Regions from separate parts of the Homo sapiens genome. Here region 1 is linked to region 2. Evidence: promoter capture Hi-C in 16 types of primary human blood cells and fetal thymus (Javierre and others, 2016). All regions are on one chromosome and are shown on one strand. Each heading gives the region's core, a stretch centred on a gene start or on the middle of the fragment in contact. The rest is flanking DNA. Distances are from core to core; before and after follow the strand shown.

Evidence for each region. Contacts are between HindIII fragments. The CHiCAGO score rates a contact against its expected background, and 5 or more counts as called.
Region 1: a fragment that was not itself captured here is called in contact with the fragment with the promoter of CXADR in region 2 in 3 of 17 cell types (M0 macrophages, M1 macrophages and M2 macrophages); the score reaches 6.9 in M0 macrophages.

The regions. Positions count from the first base shown.
Region 1 is chr21:17,397,222-17,401,708 of GRCh38, reverse strand. No RefSeq gene overlaps it. Among named protein-coding and RNA genes, the nearest start is that of LINC01549, 39 kb to the left of the region's middle. The HindIII fragment of the contact is 9,913 bases long and covers 1-4,487 here.
Region 2 is chr21:17,510,018-17,514,592 of GRCh38, reverse strand. It overlaps CXADR (CXADR cell adhesion molecule), which reads right to left and starts at 1,550. Exons shown (of 7, transcript NM_001338.5): 1 at 1,421-1,550. The coding sequence starts at 1,463. RefSeq lists silencers at 1,380-1,919, 1,980-2,099. The HindIII fragment of the contact is 5,305 bases long and covers 1-2,676 here.

The DNA.
Region 1 (4,487 bases), core at 173-2,672, 110 kb after region 2:
TTTTTGGGTTTTAGCAAAGCATCTTTGACATTTCTGCCTTCAGAGAGGAACCTAAGGACAATACAAAGGAGGAAAGAAACAGAAAAAACAGTCTCGTTTTTATTTCTAGACTTGCCAATGAAGTGTTAGACAATTTCCTTATTTTCTATTTGATTCCCCAAACACCCAGCCTTTCCTTTTACACTCACCCTTTAACTTTTTTTTTTTTTTGAGACAGGATCTTACTCTGTCACCCAGGCTGGAGTGCAGTGGTGTGATCTCCGCTTACTGTAACCTCCGCCTCCTGAGTTACAGCGATTCTCCCACCTCAGCCTCCTGAGTAGCTGGGACTACAGGTGCGCACCACCACACCTGGCTAATTTTTGTATTTCTTGGTAGAAACAGGATTTCACCATGTTGGTCAGGCTGGTCTTGAACTCCTGATCTCAAGTGATCCACCTGCCTCAGCCTCCCAAAGTGCTGGGATTACAGGTGTGAGCCACTGTGCTCGGCCCTTTAACATTTTTTACTTAAATAAAAAGCAGAACTTTTATTGAGAGTTCCTTAAAATAAAAGTAAAGCCTATTAGCTCATTCCTAAATCACAGAATAATATAGTTATATAAATCTGTGGCACGCAAAAATACAGTTTTCATACACAATTGCATTGTGTATGAAATTGCAAGCTAAAGCTAGTGAATTGCAAGCTAAATTGTGAATTGCATTGTGTATGAATTGCATTGTGTCTGAAATTGCAAGCTAAAGCTGGTGAATTGCAAGCTAAAGAGTAAAGTGCATGGATAGAAATAAGACCCACTGCTAATAAGCTGTAGTAAGTTGGAAAAGGCTATTGATCTCTGTGAACAGTTTCTATATCTGTAAATTGGGGTTACTGGTTTTAAGTGCCTCTAATATTCTAGGCCCTAAGATTTTTGTGTATTCTATTCTATACAAATGCAAGATCATAATATAGACAATACCCAAGAAGAAAAGATGAGGAATTCCTGGTTATAATCTGCTAATTTATTTGTCTGTTGTATGGCTTATGGTTTTTCTTTACTGCGTTTCCTAAAGGGACACAAGTGAATTACTATTGTCCTGTAATTTCTGTTTAGAAACCCTTTTCAAAGAGAGAAATCCTGCTAGCTCTCACTGGCCTTTGATTTGACAGTGTCACCGAAAAAAAATATATATCTGCCGGTGATTTAACAAAGTCCAGACTCTTGAGTGAAAGGGCAGAACCCAGGGGGTTGATCTGATTTTCCAGATCCTTTAATGTGAATTGAATGCAAGCTCACAAGGATGTCTTTCATTGGCTAACATCTTCCCTTTCTTCTCATATCCCAAATAAGAGGAGACAGTGCAGAACCTGGGTCATGTGAAAGGGAAAGTAGGCATGCCTGCATACTCTTTCCCCATGCCTCAAGAAATAAGAGGAAAGAGAGTTCTGTGTTTGTTGATTGCCTTACTGAAGTAAGCCACTTACTGTGGTAAAGCATATGTGAAGGCCTTACTGTTTTATCTTTTCTTTCTTTCTTTCTTCTTTCTTTCTTTCTTTATTTCTTTCTTTCTTTCTTTCTTTCTTTCTTTCTTTCTTTCTTTCTTTCTTTCTTTTCTTTCTTTCTTTCTTTCTTTCTTGCCTTTCTTTCCTTTCTTTCTTTCTTTTCTTTTGTTTGACGGAGTTTCGCTTTTTTGCCCAGGCTGGAGTGAAGTTGAAGTGGTGTGATCTCTCAGCTCACTGCAACCCAACCTCCACCTGACGGGTTCAAGCAATTCTCCTGCCTCAGCCTCCTGAGTATCTGGGATTACAGGTTTACGCAACCACACCCGGCTAGTTTTTGTTAGAGATGGTGTTTTGCTATGTTGATAAGGCTGGTCTCGAACTCCTGACCTCAGGTGATCCACCTGCCTCAGCCTCTCAAAGTATTGTGATTACAGGCATGAGTCACGGTGCCTGGCTGGGCCTTACAGTTTTTACTTTACAGATAGAGAAACTGAGGTATGGCATGATTAATACCTAAAAAATTACACAGCTAGACACTTGTGGAGTAGGAATTCAGTCCTAGATGTGTCTCTACTGCCTCCCCTAAATGCTGGGTCCATGGTGCCATAAAAGCAGGGGGCATCCCATGGCCTGTAGCAATTGTTGACAGTAAGTTAGATTGTTTCTCTGTTTTTAAGTTCAAGGATGTGAGTTGAATTAGTAAATGTTTTATAGTGGAGTCTATTAAAAAAAAAACGCGCAGCTAGGCATGGTGGCTCATGCCTGTAATCCCAGCACTTTGGGAGGCCGAGGTGGGTGGATCACCTGAGGTCTGGAGTTGGAGACCAGCCTGGCCAACATGGCAAAACTCCATCTCTACTAAAAATTAGCTGGGTGTGGTGGTGCACATCTGTAATCCCAGTAACTTGGGAGGCTGAGGCAAGAGAATCACTTGAATCCCGGAGGTGGAGGTTGCAGTGAGCTGAGATTGCACCACTGCACTCCAGCCTGGGCAACAGAGCAAGACTCTGTCTCAAAAAAAAAAGTTATAGGCCGATGCAGTGGTTCATGCCTGTATTTGCAGCATTTTGAGAGGCCGAGGTGGGAGGATTGCTTGAGATAAGGAGTTTGAGACCAGCCTGGGCAACACAGCAAGACCCTGCCTTTAGAAAAAATTAAACAATTAGCTGCAGTGAGCCACGATTGCATCACTGTACTCCAGCCTGGGCAATAGAGTGAGACTCTGTTAAAAAAAGAAAAAAAAGGTGCTTTGAACACCTTCATTAGGAATTTGTGCTGACTGAATTTTTTTGTAACTCTCAATTTTTTTTTAATGGCTTTAAAAGTAAGTGATGCTCAGAGAAGATAAGAAAATATGTACCTATAGTAGAGAGTTTGAGGGCAGGGGGTCCATATCTACCAGGAGGCAGCCTCTGATAACAGTCTTCACACAGGGCTTTGCACAAGTATATCACTGATGAAATTTAGAAAAAAAAAATAGCCTTTTCCCAAACCCCTGAAGGAGGTAAGTCAGTGATGAAGAGGTATTAGCAACACCGTATTTTCTTTAGGCCTAATCAGAACATGTTGGCTAAGATTTCTGAAAATCAAATTACAAACAGGTATTTGGTGCCTTCAGAAAAGGCAATATCTGTTTGGGTGAAGTAGCAGCAACCATAAGAACATAGCAAAGAAAGAAAAGGTGTGGGTGGTTTTTTTTCCCTTTATTTTCACAATTTCATTTTATAGATTGCTCAGTAACATCTGTTGGTTATTGAAAATCCCACGAAGAAAATTAAAGGCCCACGATTCACGGCTTTGCAAACACACACTGCGGAGTGGCTCATTTCTGAATACATAACTACCAGGCATGCTCCAGCATCAGCTCAGTTTGCCCTCGTTTCCTTACTCTTGTAAACGCAAAGGAGGGTGGTTTCTTTTACATAGACTCTGCCTGCCCTTTCCCTGCAACTCACCAAAGCAAAATAAACTACACTTTGGAAAATCCTGTCAAATGTAGCTTGGATTTGATATTTCTATTGACATTTTTAAGTTATACTAGATGAAAACTACATATGTTGCTCTCTCCCTCCCTCCCTTCTTTCCTCTCTCTCCCATCTTTATTTTTGTTTTTACTTTTTGTTCTTATCAAAGATATAAATGTATAAAGCTGAAAGAGTCAAATAATTATGAAAAACAGCAGTTCCCTGTTCCTGTCTGCCCATCTTCTTCTCCCTAGGGAAAACTACATTCCCCCATCTTCCTATCTTCCTTCCTCCCTCCCTCCCTCCCTTTCTCTTTCTTTCTTTCTCTTTCTCTCTTCCTTCCTTCCTTCTTTCTCTTTCTTCCTTTCTTTCTTTCTTTCTCTTTTTCTTTCTTTCTTTCCTTCTTTCTCTCTTTCTTTCCCTCTCTCTCTCTTTCCTTCCCTCCCTCCCTTCCCTTCTCCCTCCTTCCTTCCTTCCTCCCTCCCTTCCTCTTTTTCTCTTTCTTTCCTTCATCCCTTCCTTTCTCCTTCCCTTCCTTCCTTCATTCCTCCCCCTCTCTCTCTTTCTCCTTCTTTCCCTCCTTTCTTCTTTTTTTTTAAAGATGAGTTTCCACTTTGTTGCTTAGGCTGGCTTCAAACTCCTGGGCCCAAGTGATCCTCCCACCTCAGCCTTCCCAAGTAGCTGAAACTACAGGTGCACACTACTATGCCTAGCTTGTATTTACTTTTTTGCCTGTAAATAACATGCTTATAGGACTACTTTATTTTTCAGTTTTATGCGTTGTCTATCAGTTTCTCACTGTAGAAGATGAGGATTTTGTTTTCTTTCTTCCCCCATCTTCACCACACCTATCCACTCCTTCCATATATTTACTTATTTTTTCACTATGATTATGCTGTAATTTTGTTTGGATTAAAAATCAGTGTTCACATATTATGAGAGATATTCACAGGTTTGTAATCATAATGTTCCTTTTGTTCATGCCACTATGACCATTTTCCTTTCTTGAAGATTCTTTTGTTCATACCACTCTGACCCTTC
Region 2 (4,575 bases), core at 301-2,800:
TGGTCTAAAACTATTTTTTTTTTTTTTCCCAGAGAACACACTGTGTTCTCAACTTCATCTTCAGGTTCGGCCTAGACAAAAAAAAGAAAAAAAAGAAAGAAAGGTGGGAATGTACCTGTAAACTGGTTCTATGACCCTTCATCTTCTCCGGAAGGCTTACTTTGGACATTTCAGCCCGCCAAGTCTAAATGATATATATCAAAAAGGTGGAGGTAGTGCTATAGGCTCAGATCGAAGATTAGACTTGCTAATAGAATGTTGATCCCATGAGTAATGCTCACAGCTGTGGCATCCAACAATGGAATTAACATTTCAACAGGAAGCAGAGAGCCATCCCAACAGAAAGGGCCACTAGATCCTGCTTCAGAGCACCTAACAACAAAAAATTACCCTTCCAGAGGCTATACTAAGTGCGCCTCCTAGGATCCCACCTACGGATTTTTAAAAATGAATTATTTGGTTATAAAACGCAGCAAGTGCTTAGTTTGACAAACAAGATCAGTTGGTTAAAACACCGACATGGAAAATCCGTTTTTTAAAGTGTCAAAATGATTACGCCTCCTAATGGTCCACGCATTTTTCACATGCCTTTTTTCCCCTCCCAGAGAAAGGAGCAGTCGACAAACGCACTTGGCAAATCCTCTAGCAATTACCCTGTACAACTCAGCCCGTCTTATCTCCAAAATGAACGACTCATTACAAACTCAAAAACGAGGTCACTGAATTCTCCTTTGCACTTCGCCCAAGGACTGCAGAAACCAATGCTACATTTTTGCAGGAACCCACTTTTGATTTTCCACGGTCTCCTTCACAATGCGCGTCTGGTTAGCAGCTCCTGCCTGGGCGAGCTGCTTCCAGGAGACTAACACCGTCCAGGCTGGCGTTCGCTCAGCGCCTCTTTCCTAGAGGTAGCCTGGCCGATCCGAGGCACCGGGCAGCTCCATGTCCATTGAATAATGGCGTTTGCAATTCAGCCTCCCCGCCTGGGCGACTCGACACCTGAAAACTCGCCGCCCAAGGTTTTTGAAATCGGGTAACGCTGGAGAGAACCGACACGAAGGCTGACAAGGGAGACGGCGAGAGCAAAGAAAGGCAAGCCCGCACCGGGGCAGAGAATGCTATGGGAGAGCTGCGAGGCGCACCCGACACGCCGCGCCCGAGCCCCTCCGCCTCCACCCCCCGCCGAGGGCTCCGTCCCCGGGCACTCCGCGCGCCCTGCGCGGCTCCCTACGGGACGGCTCCAGGAGCGCCCGGCCCAGCAAAAGCGCCCCTGTGCAATTCTGCCCGCCCCGCCGCCCCTGCAGCAGCGCCCCCAAATCGCGCCCGCCCCCTCCCCCACGCCCCATTGTTCCTGGGTGGCCGCGGGCAGCGAGCGCCCCCGGGCTGGGCGGGTGCTGAGGACCCCATGGCCCCTACTCACCCACTACTCCGCACAGGAGCACGAAGCACAGCAGGAGCGCCATGGTGGCTGCCGTGCCGTGGGCGGCGGCTGCAGGTAGGCGGCTCTCGCTCCTGGTCCCAGGCTCCCCGCGCCTCGCGCGCTCCCGACTGGCTCGCGGCGGCGGCGGCACCTCTGCACCCTCCGCCCCTCCTCCCAGCCCCCGCTCGGCAGGTGAACTCGCGTCACTTCCGGCAGCGGCCCGGGCCGGGCTGCGAGCGCCGGCTTCTCCAGCCGCGTGGGGTTGCCTTGGCAACCGGGCGAGGCGCTCTTCTGTCCCCGGGACCCTCCCGGCGCCGAACTCTCAGCCTCCCGGCGCGCGGCGTCGTAGGTCGCGGGCGGCCGCCTCCCACGCCGCAAGCCTGCGCAGGGGTCCCCGCCTCCATCCCTTAAGCTAAACCAGGGTTTTGCGCGCGGGGGTGGGGCAGCCCGTCTCCCACATACTGAAATTGCGTTGGCGCCCTCCTTTAAGGCGAGGCACGGGACACTCCCAGGGGCCGCCACTAGGGCGGCTCCTACCCTCCGCCCCGCCTGCACCCACCCGTCCCACCCCTCGCGGTTTGCCCCAGGGGCAGGTTCTCTGACCTCATGCTCACGGGATGCGACCTGTGCAGCCCCTGGCCTTCGCTCTCTTAACGAGCCGCTCTGGCTGACATAAAAAGCGCGAGAGGGCTTTTCTCCATCTCTGGTAGGGATAGAGCCCCTCTGCAGCTACCGATTTGGGAAATACCTGAGGTTTTTTCCACTTGCACAGAAAGGCTATTCTAGCCCTGAAGCTGGCTAGTAAGACGCTATAGTCCCAGCTACTCCGGAGGCTGAGGTAGGCAGACAACTATTATCCAATATTAGTGAGTGAGCTTTGAAAGTGGGGCTCAGTAGTTGTGGTTGAAGGCGTCAGTTGGAGTGTGGGGTCGGGGAATTGGAGATCTTGAAAGTTGTTGTCGGCTGCTCTTCCAGATAACGTTTATTTATAACTACATAGAGACTTTGTAGTGCCGCGACAGTTCCATAACAGAAATGAATTGAAGAAGAGGAGCGGTGGGTAAGAGCTTATTCCGCGGAGTGGGGCAGTAACTGGGCAGGTTTCATAGAAATGGCACCTACTTCGGGGTTGCTATGAAAGTTAAATGAGATAATGCACAAAAAATGCTTGGCACCCTGCCTGGCACGTAGTTTTAATTAGCTTCCACTTACTGAGTTCTTGCTTACAGGGTTCCTGCTTATGTAGTCTATAAGCTTACATAGTTTGTAAGTTCCTGCTTACTATCTAGACTAAGCAGGAACCCCCGTAAGCAGAATTCAGTAAGTGGAAGCTAATAAAACTAATATTGGAAAATTCTTATTATGCATTGAACCAGAAAAGAGAAGGGGCAAAGAAATCAGGTATCAAGAAGACCAGAATTGCGCAACTGCAGTTTAGCCTGGTGAGTTGCAATTCTGGCTGCACATGAAAATTACTTGGAGAATGTTTTAAAAATACTAGTGCCTGGCTGGGCGCGGTGACTCACGCCTGTAATCCCAGCACTTTGGGGGCCCAGGCGGGCGGATCATGAGGTCAGGAGATCGAGACCATCCTGGCTAACACGGTGAAACCCTGTCTCTACTAAAAATACAAAAAATTAGCCAGGCGTGGTTGCAGGCGCCTGTAGTCCCAGCGACTCGGGAGGCTGAGGCAGGAGAATGGCGTGAACCCCGGGAGGGGGAGCTTGCAGTGAGCCGAGATTGCGCCACTGCACTCCAGCCTGGGCGACACAGCGAGACTCCGTCTCAAAAAAAAAAAAAATATATCTATCTATCTATCTATCTATATATGTATATATATACTAGTACCTGAGCCTTACTCAAGTGATTCCAATTTAATTTGATTTAAGGGGAATCCTGCTTTACGGCAGCCCAATAAATGACAGATGACCAGTGGTAGTAAGAGGAAGTGGCTTTGCAAAATCATACCATCTGATTGTAAAGTTCTGCCAAAGCTTTTACAAACTAATAAGAGTTCAATACAGACGTAAGACAACATGAGTAACGGCTAGGGACTTCCCATTTGAGCAAACAGGAATTCTACTGGATATAATTGCGTGTAAATAATATTTGGAATTTAAATTTTTACTCACCACACTAAATGAAATCAAGCAGAGAAGAGCAAGTATTGAAGTTGTTCATCTGTTTAACAGTGTTCTACGAGAACTTTTCTATACTCGCTCTGTCGCCCAGGCTGGAGTTCAGTGACCCCATCTCGGCTCACTGCAACCTCCGCCTCCAAGGTTCAAGCGATTCTTCTGCTTCAGCTTCCCGAGTACCTGGGACTACAGGCGCGCGCCACCACGCCCGGCTAATTTTTGTATTTTTAGTAGAGACGGGGTTTCACCATATGGGCCAGGCTGGTCTCGAACTCCCAGCATGTTGGGAGGCAGAGGTGGACGATCGCCTGAGCCCAGGCGTTCGAGACCAGCCTGGGCAACATGGCAAGACCCCCCATATCTACTAAAAATAAAAAATGAGCCGGATGTGATGGCGCGCAGTGCCTGTAGTCCCAGCTACTCCGGAGGCTGAGGTAGGAGGACAAATATTATCCAATATTAGTTTTGTTATCTTCCACTTACTATGTGCAGGAACCCGGTAAGCAGGATCTCAGTAAGTGGAGCTAATAAAGTGAGCCCAGGAGGCAGAGGTTGCAGAGAGCCTTGATCCAAGAAGGAGAAGGAAGCAGAAAGAAGAAGAAAAGGAGGAGGAGGAGGAGGAAGAATTACCCAAAAGGATTTAGGAGGAGGAGGGGGGGGGGAGGAATTACCCGAAAGGATTTAGGAGGAGGAGGGAGGAGGACCGGGAGGACGAAGGGAGGAGGAAGGAGGAGGAGGAGGAAGAGGAACAACAACTACCCAAAAGGATTTTTATCTTAATCCCTTTCCTGGTACTTTTTCTTCTAATTCTTAGCTTTTGCCTCCTTCTGTGTTAGGCATTTGCATACCTATTAATCACTTTTCTTGTTCTAAATACTTCTAGAAGGCTGAAAAAGCACATTTTTTTTTTGTCTTCGTCACTTCTGAAAGCACATACTAGGTTCTCAAGTATTTCTCAAGTTGAATTGAATGCTTATTTTCTATGGCAATATGTTAATAAAATTTAAGTATCTGTGC